2 separate regions of the Homo sapiens genome follow, and region 2 is linked to region 1. The links are contacts of gene promoters, found by promoter capture Hi-C in blood cells and fetal thymus (Javierre and others, 2016). All regions are on one chromosome and are shown on one strand. Each heading gives the region's core, a stretch centred on a gene start or on the middle of the fragment in contact. The rest is flanking DNA. Distances are from core to core; before and after follow the strand shown. Region 1 holds the start of TNP1 (transition protein 1). Region 2 overlaps DIRC3 (disrupted in renal carcinoma 3).

Region 1 (6,345 bases), core at 2,274-4,773:
GCAAATAACATGAAAACAAGCTTTTTAAGGTGAGGGTTCAGGAGCCCTGTGTAACTCTCTCCTCACTCTATCTCTCTACAATTTGCTTCTGAAGGGACTTCGGTCCATGACAACATAAGGGAGGAGATAAGCAGGTTGATAAAGTGGCAAACTTCTAAGGAGTCCAGGGAAAGAAGAATTTTGTCTACAAAGTTGTGTCAGATATCACTGTTGGATTTTGGAGATTTTATCCAACATTCTCTGCTCTTTGATGCCCCAGGGGGCTGGCCCTTATGCTCTGTGTCACCTGGGGTCTCTTGTCTGCTGACTTCTGAATTTCGCCAATGAGAGCAGCAGCAGGAGATTAGATAAATGATGGAATGTTTCTTCCCTGTGTCTGAGCCTGACAACAGCTGCGATCCTCCTAGTACAGATTTTACCAGGAGGTCCATTCACAACCATTCCTTCCCACACACAGTTTTGGCTGTCAATGGGCTCCTGTTGTGCTATTTTGCCCTTTTGCCTTCTCAGTCCTAAGGGTCTGAAGACCTCATTGGTAGGCTCTAGGTGTCTCTCCTCTGTAAATAATCCCTTTGACAAAGTCTTCATTTGGACCATCTGCAGGGATCTGTGGCTCCCTAATCATAACAAGTTTCCTGAGGGAAGTAAATGTTGCACACTCAGCATCACGGTATTCTAGTTTGTTCCTGACTGTTGACTTTGTCCTATGGGAGAGGTCATCTTTGTGCAAATTGGCAATCCACAAGAAGTGAGCTGTGCACAAGAGCATTTGAAGACTCATGACACACAGTCATAGCAGGAAGTGGCAAGGCAGCAAGCTGTGAAGAGGCTTAAGGGGAAGATGGGGACCAGAGGCTGAGAAAAGATACAGATCATCCAGAGAGCAATTGTAATAGACACCGAGGTGAGCTGCTCAGATTGTGGGTGTGTGGTCCACCAAGGAACCTCCAGCTGATGCTCCCTTCTGAGTCTGCCTCAGCAGGGAAATGCCATGTCTTACTGGCGCAGCCCAGCCAGGGGGGGTATAAATGGTATAAAGGCCTGGCTATACTGCCTGATGGTTTGTGCAGCTCCTTCTTCTGTACGACCCTGCAGCCTCCCTCTTCAAGTACTGACCTCTAATAAACATCTTGCATTCAAGCTCCATCTCCACTCCCTGAGAACCCAACCTATGAGGCTAAGTTTAAAAGAATTTACAGCAAGAGCAGCAAAAGCACATTAAAATAATTAAACAATTTTTACTTTTTGGATTTATTTTCTAGATTTCATGTGTTGCAAAGTGTGTTTATATTTTATACAGAGGCAGAGGAAGTCCCAGGAGGCATGAGAGCAGGGTGAGAGCCATGGCTGATGAGTTCTTTCAGAGATTTGAAGGAGGGAATCCAGATCAGATATGTGTGCAAACTTCTAAGAAGTTAGAGCTTCGTTCAGTGACACTACGGACACATATAGGATTATTTGAGACTAATCTGAGTTTGGTTAGAGAAGCAAAGACAAACAAAAGTCACATTTAGGAGGTAAAATATACACAACCATGGAGGATGAGGGTTATGAAGCATTTTCCCTATCCCTATCCTCCATTTAACAAAAAGGGAAACTGACAATGGAAAACTTTGAAGTATCTGTGTGCCTGATGGTAAGGAGAGATGTTTTTCACATGAACTTGAAAACAGCTCTGAATCAGCATGCTCATTCTTAGGGTTATGGAAGAGTGAGGACTTGAAATATTTTACCCCAACAAGTGAAATAACTTATCTGAAAAATGAACATGCTTTTTTTTATTGCATTTCTAGATTCTGACCCACAGGAACACCCCTTGCCACCCCTTATAGGACCAACATCCTGGTACCCACACATTTGCATGAGGCTCAGACTTAATAGTGTCCTCTTCCCATGTCTCACACCCCTGACTGCTGGAAACTTCGTGTCTAACCTCATGCCCCCTCATTCCTTCCTGCTTATACCCTTTCCTGGTTACTTCCCCAGAAACCACGTGGGTGGTTGGTTCTTGAGTTTAAATATGAGTCTCATTTCTACCCTGGAGCTACCTCTGAGGCAACAGGAAACAAGAAAAATACGATCCACCTCTGAGTGGGTGAATGTCATATCCTTGACCAGAGACATCATAAATTGTGTTACAACTCAGGGACAAGGTAAAGTGAGGGCTTAGGAATTTCCTAAATGAGCAGAACCAGCTCTATCCCTAAAGTCAGTTCTCTCTCTCTCTCTCTGTCAAATGATCAATACTCAGATTGAGACAATTCCTACTTCTAGGCACACTGGACTAAGGCTTATGGCATGCTACGAGGCAATATCCCACTCTTCAGTCTTGCCCACCTCAAGCCCAACATAGCTACCAAAATAACCTAAAGAAATCTAAACTCTCATCACTTCCACTGTTACCAATAGGATCCTTTACAAAGAACATGTTGGTCTCTGTTCAGAAGGTGTTCCCATCTCTTAGCCTGCTAATACTGCCCATATGATCAATGAATTAAGAGCTTCTAAGAGCTCCTCCAGGTGATCTCTATCTCCGGGCCAAGTCTTTAGATTTAGTTTAGCTTTCAACACCTCTATGCTATAAGCTCTGACGAAAACAGCTTGCATCCTTTGGTTTAAGCTCTAACAAAAACAGCTTGAATCCTTTGGTTAATGCTAATGAATGCATTTCTCCCTTTTTTATCTCTTCTCCCTTTCCATGTTGAGGAGAGAGACAGCACACTGGGATGAAGACAAATACGGCAATAGTGTGTGGCCAGAGTAGGACCACCTCCCACGGTGGTGGGAGGGAATTGGAGGACAAATTACTTTTGATATTTTCCAAGTCACATTTAATGGTTTCATACTGGCCAATTCTTCCCCAAACCCACCTAGCTCAGGAACTCAAGTCTTTCCAACCAAAAGATCAAAGTAAACATTTCTGCTTTCAAAGTTTTATTGAGATGTTGGGGAAAAACAGCCAACATATACATTCCTCATTTCGTCACAACTGGCATTTGATCCACATTCCATAGGCTCCTCTCTGGCTTTGATCTAACATCAGGTCTCCTTGGCAGTTCCCCTTCTGCTGTTCTTGTTGCTGCTTGGTGCTGTGTGAAGCGCACCAGGGCAGAGCCCGCTGGGGGCTCACAAGTGGGAGCGGTAATTGCGATTGGCTGTGGGAAAGGACAGGTTTGCAACAGAGACACGAATTAGAACATTCCCATCAAGACTCTTGTTGCTCAAATCTGCATTTAGTTATTGGAAATAATCTCAGGCCAAGATTTCAGGGTCCTGTGAGAGCTGCCTCCAAGAGGGAGGGCCTGGCAGCAATGTGTGCCTAAGTTTGGCAATCTCCTCCCCATCCCTCACTCACCGTCATCGCCCCGTTTCCTACTTTTCAGGTTGCCCTTACGGTATTTTCTTTTGCTGCCACCTCTCTTGACTCCCTTGTGAGGAGATCGGCTCTTGCTCCTCCTCATGCCATGACTCTTTAATTTGCGGCTGGTCGACATGGTAAGTTCTGCCAAAATGAGGGGCTTTGCAAGGCCCGGGGGCCAGGAGTCTGGGTATTTAAGGCCTTGGCCATTGTGACAGGGAAGGGGCATGGCTCAGCAGGTGGGCGGGGCTCTACTGTGCTGTCACTCACCTTTGCTGCACTTTGGTCACATTTGTGAAATAAGGTGGTCCTTTTCGTGCAGCTCAAGGGCTGCCCTCAGTTTTGAGGTCCTTTTTATGTTAAGTGAGGCTTTCCCAGAGAGGTGTTATTGAGAAACTGAATCCCAGCCCTGTGCCAGGCATTGGATGAGTACAAGAGACCATTCAGATATGCTTCTCCTGCCTGTAGGAAATGTAACAGTCATTGAGTGTGTGTGTATGCATGACTGTTTAAGTCTCTCACAGCATCCAGAGATAATAAATTTATTTCTGTAAGGACTTGACTCTACAGAACCCAATTCAATATGATCAAAATAGAAATATTCCTTCTTTTTCATCTAGGTCAGGATTTCTCAGTCTTGGCACTGTTGACACAATGGGCAGGGTAACTTTCAGTGGGCTGTCTTGTGCACCCTAGGATGTTTGGCAACATCCCTGGCCATTACCCACTGGACACCAGAGAAGCCTGGCAGCTATGACAACCCAAAATATTCCCAAACATTGCCACCTGTTTCTTTGGGAGGCTGGGGAAGTGAGGGAAAAAATGGCTCTGGTTCAGAACAATTAACCTAATCATTTTTTAAAATTCAGTCACAGATATTGATCACATAGCATATGCCATACATTTAGGTGGTAGAAAATTAGTGGAGGATAAACACACGTAGATACTGTGCTCATGGAACTCTCAGCCCACTGGGGAGAAAGCCATTCATCAGATGTCTACATAAATCAGTGAGTAAGTACTTACGGAGTCATTTTGGCTGGAGAAGGGCAGAGGGAAACTCCCTACATGGTACAGGATGAGGCTGGAGGGAGAGACAGAGATCAAACCATGATCAAGTACATTGGGAAGCCTTTAAAAATGTTAAGAGGATGGCATGTGAGATTAGAGGGTGCCAAGTGGGTGATGTATTGACTGGAGGAGCTGTGTAAAGGGAGATGCTACTGTCAACATCAATGGTTCAGCAGAGAGAAAGATTTGATGATGGTTTAGGTCTGGCCAGGAAAGGTGTTGATTGAGATCTAAAGTAGACAAGAGACCAAGGCTTGGTGACGGATTGAATTTGGGAGGTGAAAGCAGATGGTGTCAAGGGTGTGGCTTTTGTTTCTGTATAATGCAGTTATCTGGATGCTGGTGCCATTCATGGGGATAAAGGCCAGACATGGGGAGAGTGATGATCATGTACTTGGTATAAGACATACCAGCTTTGAAGTGCCTTTGACACTTACAAATAGATATATTGAATGATTATTGGTGTATAAGTCATCCAGCCTTTCCTTTTTCCTCCATTACACCTCATAGTAAATGCTTTGCTTTTGAAAATGTTTCTTTCTTTTTTTTTTTTTGAGACCGAGTCTTCTCTTTTGCTCAGGCTGGAGTGCAGTGGCACAATCTTGGTTCACTGCAACATCTGCCTCCTGTGTTCCAGCAATTCTCCTGCCTCAGCCTTCTGAGTAGCTGGGATTACAGGCGTGTGCCACCATGCCTAGCTAATTTTTGTATTTTTAGTACAGACAGCGTTTCGCCATGTTGGCCAGGCTAGTCTTGAACTCCTGATCTCAGGTGATCTGCCCACCTTGGCCTCCCAGAGTGCTGGGATTACAGACGTGAGCCACTGTGCCCGCCTCATTCGGATTTCTATAGAACTTGTTTGCTATTTCTTCCATTTGTCTCTCCTCTCTCCATTGTCATTACCCTCATTCAAGAACTGAGCATCTTGTATGCAGGAGATCCTTAGCAAAAGTTGGTTGAATAGAAGAGCGAAAGTAGTTCAAGTCCCACTCCCTGGTTTTCTGATATCTATAGATGGCAAATTGAGTTTTGAAACCCAGATTCCTTGTATAGCCACCATATGTGACACTTTCCATTTTCCTGCTTCTGGGCAGGTCTCTCTGGAGACCTTCTATTGGTGACTTGTTGGTGACTTTTATTCACATGAAGAAGTTCTATAAAACAGGCTGCTGGCTTGCTTGTTGGTAGTCCAGACCTTCTGCGTCCACTCAAGGCTGGTTGTTTCTCCTACAAACATGCCCCCATGAAAGCAGGGACCTCTGTGAAAGCAGGAATTGAGAAATTGGGCTCACTACTGAATATTCCCTGGGAGTTCATCAGTCCTGCCACAGAATAGAAGCTCAGTAAGTATTTGTGAAATACATTTGGTCAATGAATAAAAAGTCCTTCTTTTATTTTTCTAACTATCCTGTTCCTTCCCATTTTGCCCCACATCTCTAAGGAAGACTTCCCAACTTATCAAATTTTCACTGTCCTTTGAAACTTCTTCAAAGTTTATTGTCTGTATAATATTGGCTTTAAAGTCTAGACAACCAACCCTAATTGTGTGAAATCATGTTTTATGCCTGCATTGCCAGCCATGTGTGTTAGACTGGTTTCAACAGGAGGTGGTGTGTCTTCATTCTGGTCCTGACTGGACTTCTCTGGTCGTTAGCTCCCTTATTCTAAAAATAAGCAGATTGGGCTAGGTGATCTCTGAAATGATCTGACTTTGGCGATAGCCTCCTTCTCGTTAGGGACTGTACCTTTTATTTCTACTGCATTTTCCGCAGGTACTAGCATGGCCCACACTAGGTGGTCAGTAAATATTTGTTCAGTCTAGCTGCTTTGGTATATTATGAGGACAGACAGTTCAACACAATCACAGTGACTTTGCATAAGTGGGGCCATTTCAAGGCAGGGAAGAGAGAAGACAT
Region 2 (5,985 bases), core at 946-3,445, 800 kb after region 1:
GCACAAGAAGTGGCACATCCTAGGTGTCAATAAAAACTTTCCCTTTCTTTCCACTCCTGCTCCTTGCAGACCAGTACCCTGTATTTTCTATGATGAAGTGTGGAGTGTAGTAAATGGGACAGGACCTGCAGTTAGAATGCCTGTGCTTGTCCCAGCACTGCCACTTACTATCTGTGACTCTAGGCAATCTATTTAACTTTTATCTGCCTCAATTTTCTCATCTATAAAATGGGGATGATAACAGTATCTACCTTGCTGGAGGATTGTCATGTTTAAATCCTAACATATATAAACCTAGTGTATCTAGTTAACACTCTGAAGATGTCAGCTATTATTGTTCATTATTAATAATTTATTATTAAGATGAATGTAATTATTCATTATCAATATTATTACTATATATTCCAAGTGAAAAACTGAGACACAACACCTACCAGTATGAGCCAACAAACAGTGACAGTGGGGCAGAATATTTGAAACTGGGGCTACATGAATGTGCCTCTTTGTATCTTGCTCATCCCTGCCTGTGTTTGAAAAAAAAAATTAATATGAATCTTGAGTGAGAGTTTAGGAAGATGGAGGGAAGAAGACCAGCAAAGAAGGCACGAAGAACGTGGATGGACCTGAAGGACATTATGCTAAGTAAAATAAGCCAGGCACAGAAAGACAAATACAGTATGATCTCACTTATATGTGATATCTAACAAATTTGACCTCATAGAAACAGAGACTAGAAAGGTGGTTATCAGAGGCTGAGGGGGAGGAGGTGGAATGGGAAAGAAGATGTTGGTCAATGGGTACAAAGTTTCAGTTAGACAGGAAGAATAAGATATTTTAGTGATCCATTGCACTGCATGATGACCACAGTTCCTAATGTATTGTATAGTTCAAAAATGCTAAAGGAATAGATGTTTAATGTCCTCACCATGAAAAACATTGCTAAGTTGGCAAGGTGATAGATATGTTAATTAGATTAACCCTTTCTATAATATATACATAGATCAAAACATCACATGGTACTCTCTTAAATAAACACAATTATTATTTGTTTTAAATTAATAAATTTAAATTTTTAATTTTAAAAAAGAATCCGGAAACGAGGAAAAGAGCGCCTAGATTTGGCTGGTGGTTAGAGAAATGGTGAAGCCGAGTCAGATCCAAGAATGGGGACTTTGAAAGGTTTTTGCCAACAAGTATTTCTCAGCAGAGAGTTTTTCCATTGTCTGAAGAAGAACCGGTCTGTTTTCCATCCCTCAGTCTCTGCAGAGATATTGTCACCACCACCCACTTTGTTCATGTCCTTCTTTACCCTTAAAAGACTTTGCTTCTTTCTTCTCCTTCCAAATCCTTCAGAATCCAGCTCTATTCCCACTTCCTCTGGGATACTCCCTGGTGGGCCTGTCCCTCTCCTGTACCCTCCTACATAGACCCCCTTGTGGCTTGTGGTCAACTCCACACCACTTAGCACAAATTTGTCTTCATTCCTAGACACTTTGTTGTGGTTTCACACATGCAAATCTTCTTCCCCAAACCAGTCAGCTTCTTTCCAAGGGCAAGAACCATATCTTCTATTAGCTTCTGGGCCCAATGACCTGAAAGAAACCAGATTAAGCCCCAAAGGAAACATAAAGGGTACATACAAAAGCTTTGAATACCAACTGGATCCTTTGCACTAGGTCTTTCCATCAAGATCTGTGTCCTTAGCTACTGGATTCACTCTTGTTCTCAGATCCCAGACACAAGGGAAAACAGAAAAGGAAAATGCAGCATCGTCTTCTTTTTCCATTTTAGGAACTCACTTCTTGCATATTGGCCTGGATCCTAATCCTACCCCTTAAAAGCCTTGGATTCTCCACTCCCCAATATAGGACCAGTATTCTGCAGTTCTCCTTCCTCCTGCAGAAGAACATCATTAGACAAAGGTGTGGAGAAGAGGTCTTTCTCTTCAATGTTCCTCCCTATTTTCCCTTAGCCACAAATCAGTAGAGAGATGTTAGATGGCAGAGTCAGATTGCAATATGAGTCATAACTAACAAACAAAAGAATTACTATTCAATTCTTAATAAATAGGAATTAATTCATTAAACTAAATTCTGAACTTCAAATTTAAAAAAATCAAGTGCAAAAGCATAGCGGGGTAAAAGATAATTTAAGTTAACTGCAGGTGTAAGACAAGACAATAATAAATAATTTCTCTTAAGAAAGTTAATGCAGCTGGGCTGCATCAACAAATACCTAATGTTCAAGACTTTAGAGGTGATATTTCTACTTTATTAGTGCATTGGTCAGATTGGAAGTAGAACATTTGGGATTTAAAAAGGAGGGCATAGACCATAGCCAGAGGAAGACAAGGCCAAAAATGGGTCTATAAACCACATCACAAAAAGAATGCTAGAAGAAACTGAAAGTATTTTGCTTAGAGAAGAAAAGTCTCATGGGGAAATGATCCCAGTTTTCAAATATTTCAAAGGTTTTCCTGTAAGAAAGAGACAATTTATTCTGTTACTCTGGAATAAGAGGAAGCAGATCTCAATAGGAGAGGAAAGTTACTTTAGTGCTTTAAAAATAAAATGGGTTACTTTGTGAGGTTCCCACCACTGGAAATATTAAGCAAACACAGTCCTTTCAGAAGCCTGCTACTTCCTCCAAGAGTTCAGTGTCTCCTTGCTGTTCTTGGGCTATTCAGGTTGCCCCGGTGGTGGCAAAGGAGATCAGGCCACAGACAAGAGATCGAGCCTGCTCCTGCTAAGCTTACATATCAAGCTCTCCATCCCTTGGCCCAGCGAGGATGCAGTGTCCCTAGATAAATCAGACAGGCTGAGGCTTGCTGATTAAGCCTAATAGCTAGCTGATAGAAGACACATACACCCTGTCTGCCCCCAGAAAACAAAAGACCATAGGGCAAAATGTTTAATGATGCCCCCCAAATACTTTGCTTCCTGGGGTAACTCTAGGCATCTAGGAAGGTATGGTAGAGACATTCAGAGGTCTAAGATATCCACTTTGGTTTGCTAGAGCACCTTAGGAGTGATTTAGTGATTTGCATTAACTTTCTTAATAGCAGTGATTTGGCTGGGCACAGTGGCTCATGCCTGTATTCCCAGCACTTTGGAAGGCCGAGGTTGGTGGATCACCTGAGATCAAGAGTTTGAGACCAGCCTGACCAACATGGTGAAACCCCGTCTCTACTATATACAAAACATTAGCCAGGAGGTGTGGCATGCACCTGTAATCCCAGCTACTACTTGGGAGGCTGAGGCAGGAGAATTGCTTGAACCCAGGAAGCGGAGGTTGCGGTGAGCCGAGATTGCACCATTGCACTCTAGCCTGGGCAACAAGAGTGAAACTCCATCCCCAAAAAATAAATAAATAAAAAAGGAGCAATGATTTATGATTGCCATGCCTTGCAACTTCAGTTGACTTTCACCATGCTGTGCTTCTGCACTTGATTTTGTTTGAAGTTCATAATTTAATACTAATTCCTATTTATTCAGAATCACAGCAGGAGTGATTTACTATCTCCCTCCCTTTCCATGAGGGAGATAGTTATTAAAAGCCAAAGCTTAGGAAGGTCAGGCAGTGGCTCCATAAGCTGAAACCCCAGCTCCGCTGCCTACTAGCCATGTCACCTTGGGCACTTTACTCCACCTATCTGTGCCTCCCTTCCTCCTCTACAAAATAAGAAAGTTGATCTTCATAGTACCTATGATGGTTGATTTCATGTGTCAACTTGACTGGGCCACACATTTGGGCAAACATTATTCTGACTGTTTCTGTGAGGGTGTTTGCATGAAGTTAACATTTAAATTAGTAGACTAGGTAAAGCAAGTTGCCTTCCATAATGTGGGTGGACCTTATCCAGTTGAAGGCCGGAATATAACAGGAGACTGACTCTCCCCTGAGTAAGAAAAAATTCTCCTACCCAATAGTCTGTAGAGCATTGGCTCTGCAGATCTTGCCAGTCTCCATCATTACTGGGGCCAAATCTGTCTTTATTTGCTCTGTTTCTCTGGAAAACTGACTCATATAGTAACTATCACAAGAATTTATGTTGAGATCCATTAAGAAAATGCAACTGAAACCCTTTTTCTATATATCAGGTCTAGAGTAAGCCCTCAATAAATACAAGCTATTTTTTTTTAGTAAGGTTGTTGCTTGAGGAGCAAAATCATCTAATTGGTTTTATTTGGAGGGGAAGAGAAACACTTGTAAACAGGGCTGGAATGACTGTGGCCAGATATGTTCACACCCCTAGGTGGGGAATGACTGCAGCCTGGACATCAGCTGTGTCCTCAGAGGCTCTTAAAGTCTCACATCCAAGTTCTTTCCTCGACGACAGATGTACCTGCCAGATCTCTGAGTAGTTGTAGCCACACACCCTGGACTCAAGCAGGCCCCTCTTTGAGAAACATAATGGCACAGCCCTGAGACAAGGAGGGGAAGAGAGGTCCCCTGGCAACAAATCCACTGAATTTCCCAAAAGATTCCTTGCTATGCCCATCCTTCCTGAATCCAAGACCAAAGCCTTTTTCCAAACCCTGGATATCGCACAACTGCACCCCATGACCTCTTCCTCGTTTGTCTCCCTGAATTTATAAACCTGAAGCCTTTGCCTGAATCTACCCTGCCCAGTGACATCTACCCATCATTCCAGGAAGGGCTCACATCCACCTCAACCCTTCCCTGAAGTTCTCTGTCCACCCCAGTCACTTCAACCACCAATTTGCCCCTTGCCAGGCCCTCTTGTATTATTTGCACAGTCAACTCTCCTTGGGTTTGCACCCACTGCCTTTTCTGAAACACTTTACAAGCTCTTTAAAAATGGCCACTCCATGTCTTGCACCTTTCGCATCACCTAACACAGTCCCACATCTCTTCAATTGTTTGACTGATGATCCATGCCTTTGCAACCCCTTAGCCATCAGCAGCTCCACAGTTAGTTTTCTCTATCTGAAGCACTGACTGCCAAACCTGAATGAGTGTCAAAAATCACCTGGAGAACTTTTATAAATTAAAGATTCCTGGGCCTCACCCCAAACCCACACAATCAGACCCTCCAAGGATGGGACTTTGGAATCTAAATGTTTTAAAAGGTGCTCAGGTGATTCTAATGAGCTGCTGGTTTGGGGGACCACTACTCTTAGAGATATAGAAGCACTTTCTTGTGCTTTTGGACTGAACCCACCTCCAATGAAACTGAGTCAACTCATCCAAGACCATGTGTAAAACCCATCCTCCGGCTGGGTGTGGTGGCTCACGCCTGTAATCCCAGGAGTTTGGGAGGCCCAGGCGGGCAGATCACGAGGTCAGGAGATCGAGACCATCCTGGCTAACAGGATGAAACCCCATCTCTACTAAAAAATACAAAAAAAAAAAAAAAATAGCCGGGCGTGGTAGCGGGAGCCTGTAATCCCAGCTACTCGTGCTGGGGGAGGCTGAGGCAAGAGAATGGCATCAGCCTGGGAGGCGGAGCTTGCAGTGAGCCAAGATCATGCCACTGCACTCCAGCCTGGGCCACAGAGCAAGACTCTGTCCCTAAAAAAAAAAAAAAAAAAAAAAAAAACCAAAAAAAAAAAAACATCCTCCACTCTTATCAGACCAGCCTTCCTGTGGAACCCCACACGGTTCTCCTGTCCCATGCTTTTCTCTAGACTTCACTGTCTGCCAAACAACCTCCTTATATTCCTCCTTCCTGCTACCTCTCTTCCTCCCATGAATGTAAACAACCCTCCCCTCCTTAGCATCCCAGTTCCAGTCCCCTCCTGAGTGGACCCACATGTTGGCACTGTCTCTGCCTGAGTCTTCCCAAGCAGCACGCTTTGCCAACAATGACTTGGGTTGAACTAAAGAAAATTTCTTAGCATTTATGCTGACTATTTAAGGAGAATTTGTTGATGTATTCTTTCCAAGATAAACACTCAAGAATATGGTTGATTAGTAGAATATGCTCAAAATTCTACTAGTGGTCTGCATTTTACCTTGCAA

The links. The method cuts DNA at HindIII sites, captures the fragments that hold promoters and counts their contacts. A CHiCAGO score of 5 or more calls a contact.
Region 2: a contact is called between a fragment that was not itself captured here and the fragment with the promoter of TNP1 in region 1, in 1 of 17 cell types (neutrophils). The highest score is 6.2, in neutrophils.

Annotation. Positions count from the first base shown.
Region 1 is chr2:216,856,541-216,862,885 of GRCh38, forward strand. TNP1 (transition protein 1) reads right to left here and starts at 3,524. Exons shown (of 2, transcript NM_003284.4): 1 at 3,356-3,524; 2 at 2,918-3,155. The coding sequence starts at 3,494. The coding sequence ends at 3,127. LOC124906118 (a long non-coding RNA gene) reads right to left here. Exons shown (of 3, transcript XR_007088082.1): 2 at 4,385-4,442; 3 at 3,714-3,820. It overlaps LOC124907979 (a long non-coding RNA gene), which reads left to right. Exons shown (of 2, transcript XR_007088084.1): 1 at 1-29; 2 at 604-1,237. The HindIII fragment of the contact is 13,346 bases long and covers 19-6,345 here.
Region 2 is chr2:217,659,152-217,665,136 of GRCh38, forward strand. The region is part of intron 2 of DIRC3 (disrupted in renal carcinoma 3); the gene reads right to left. Among named protein-coding and RNA genes, the nearest start is that of DIRC3, 130 kb to the right of the region's middle. The HindIII fragment of the contact is 1,105 bases long and covers 1,644-2,748 here.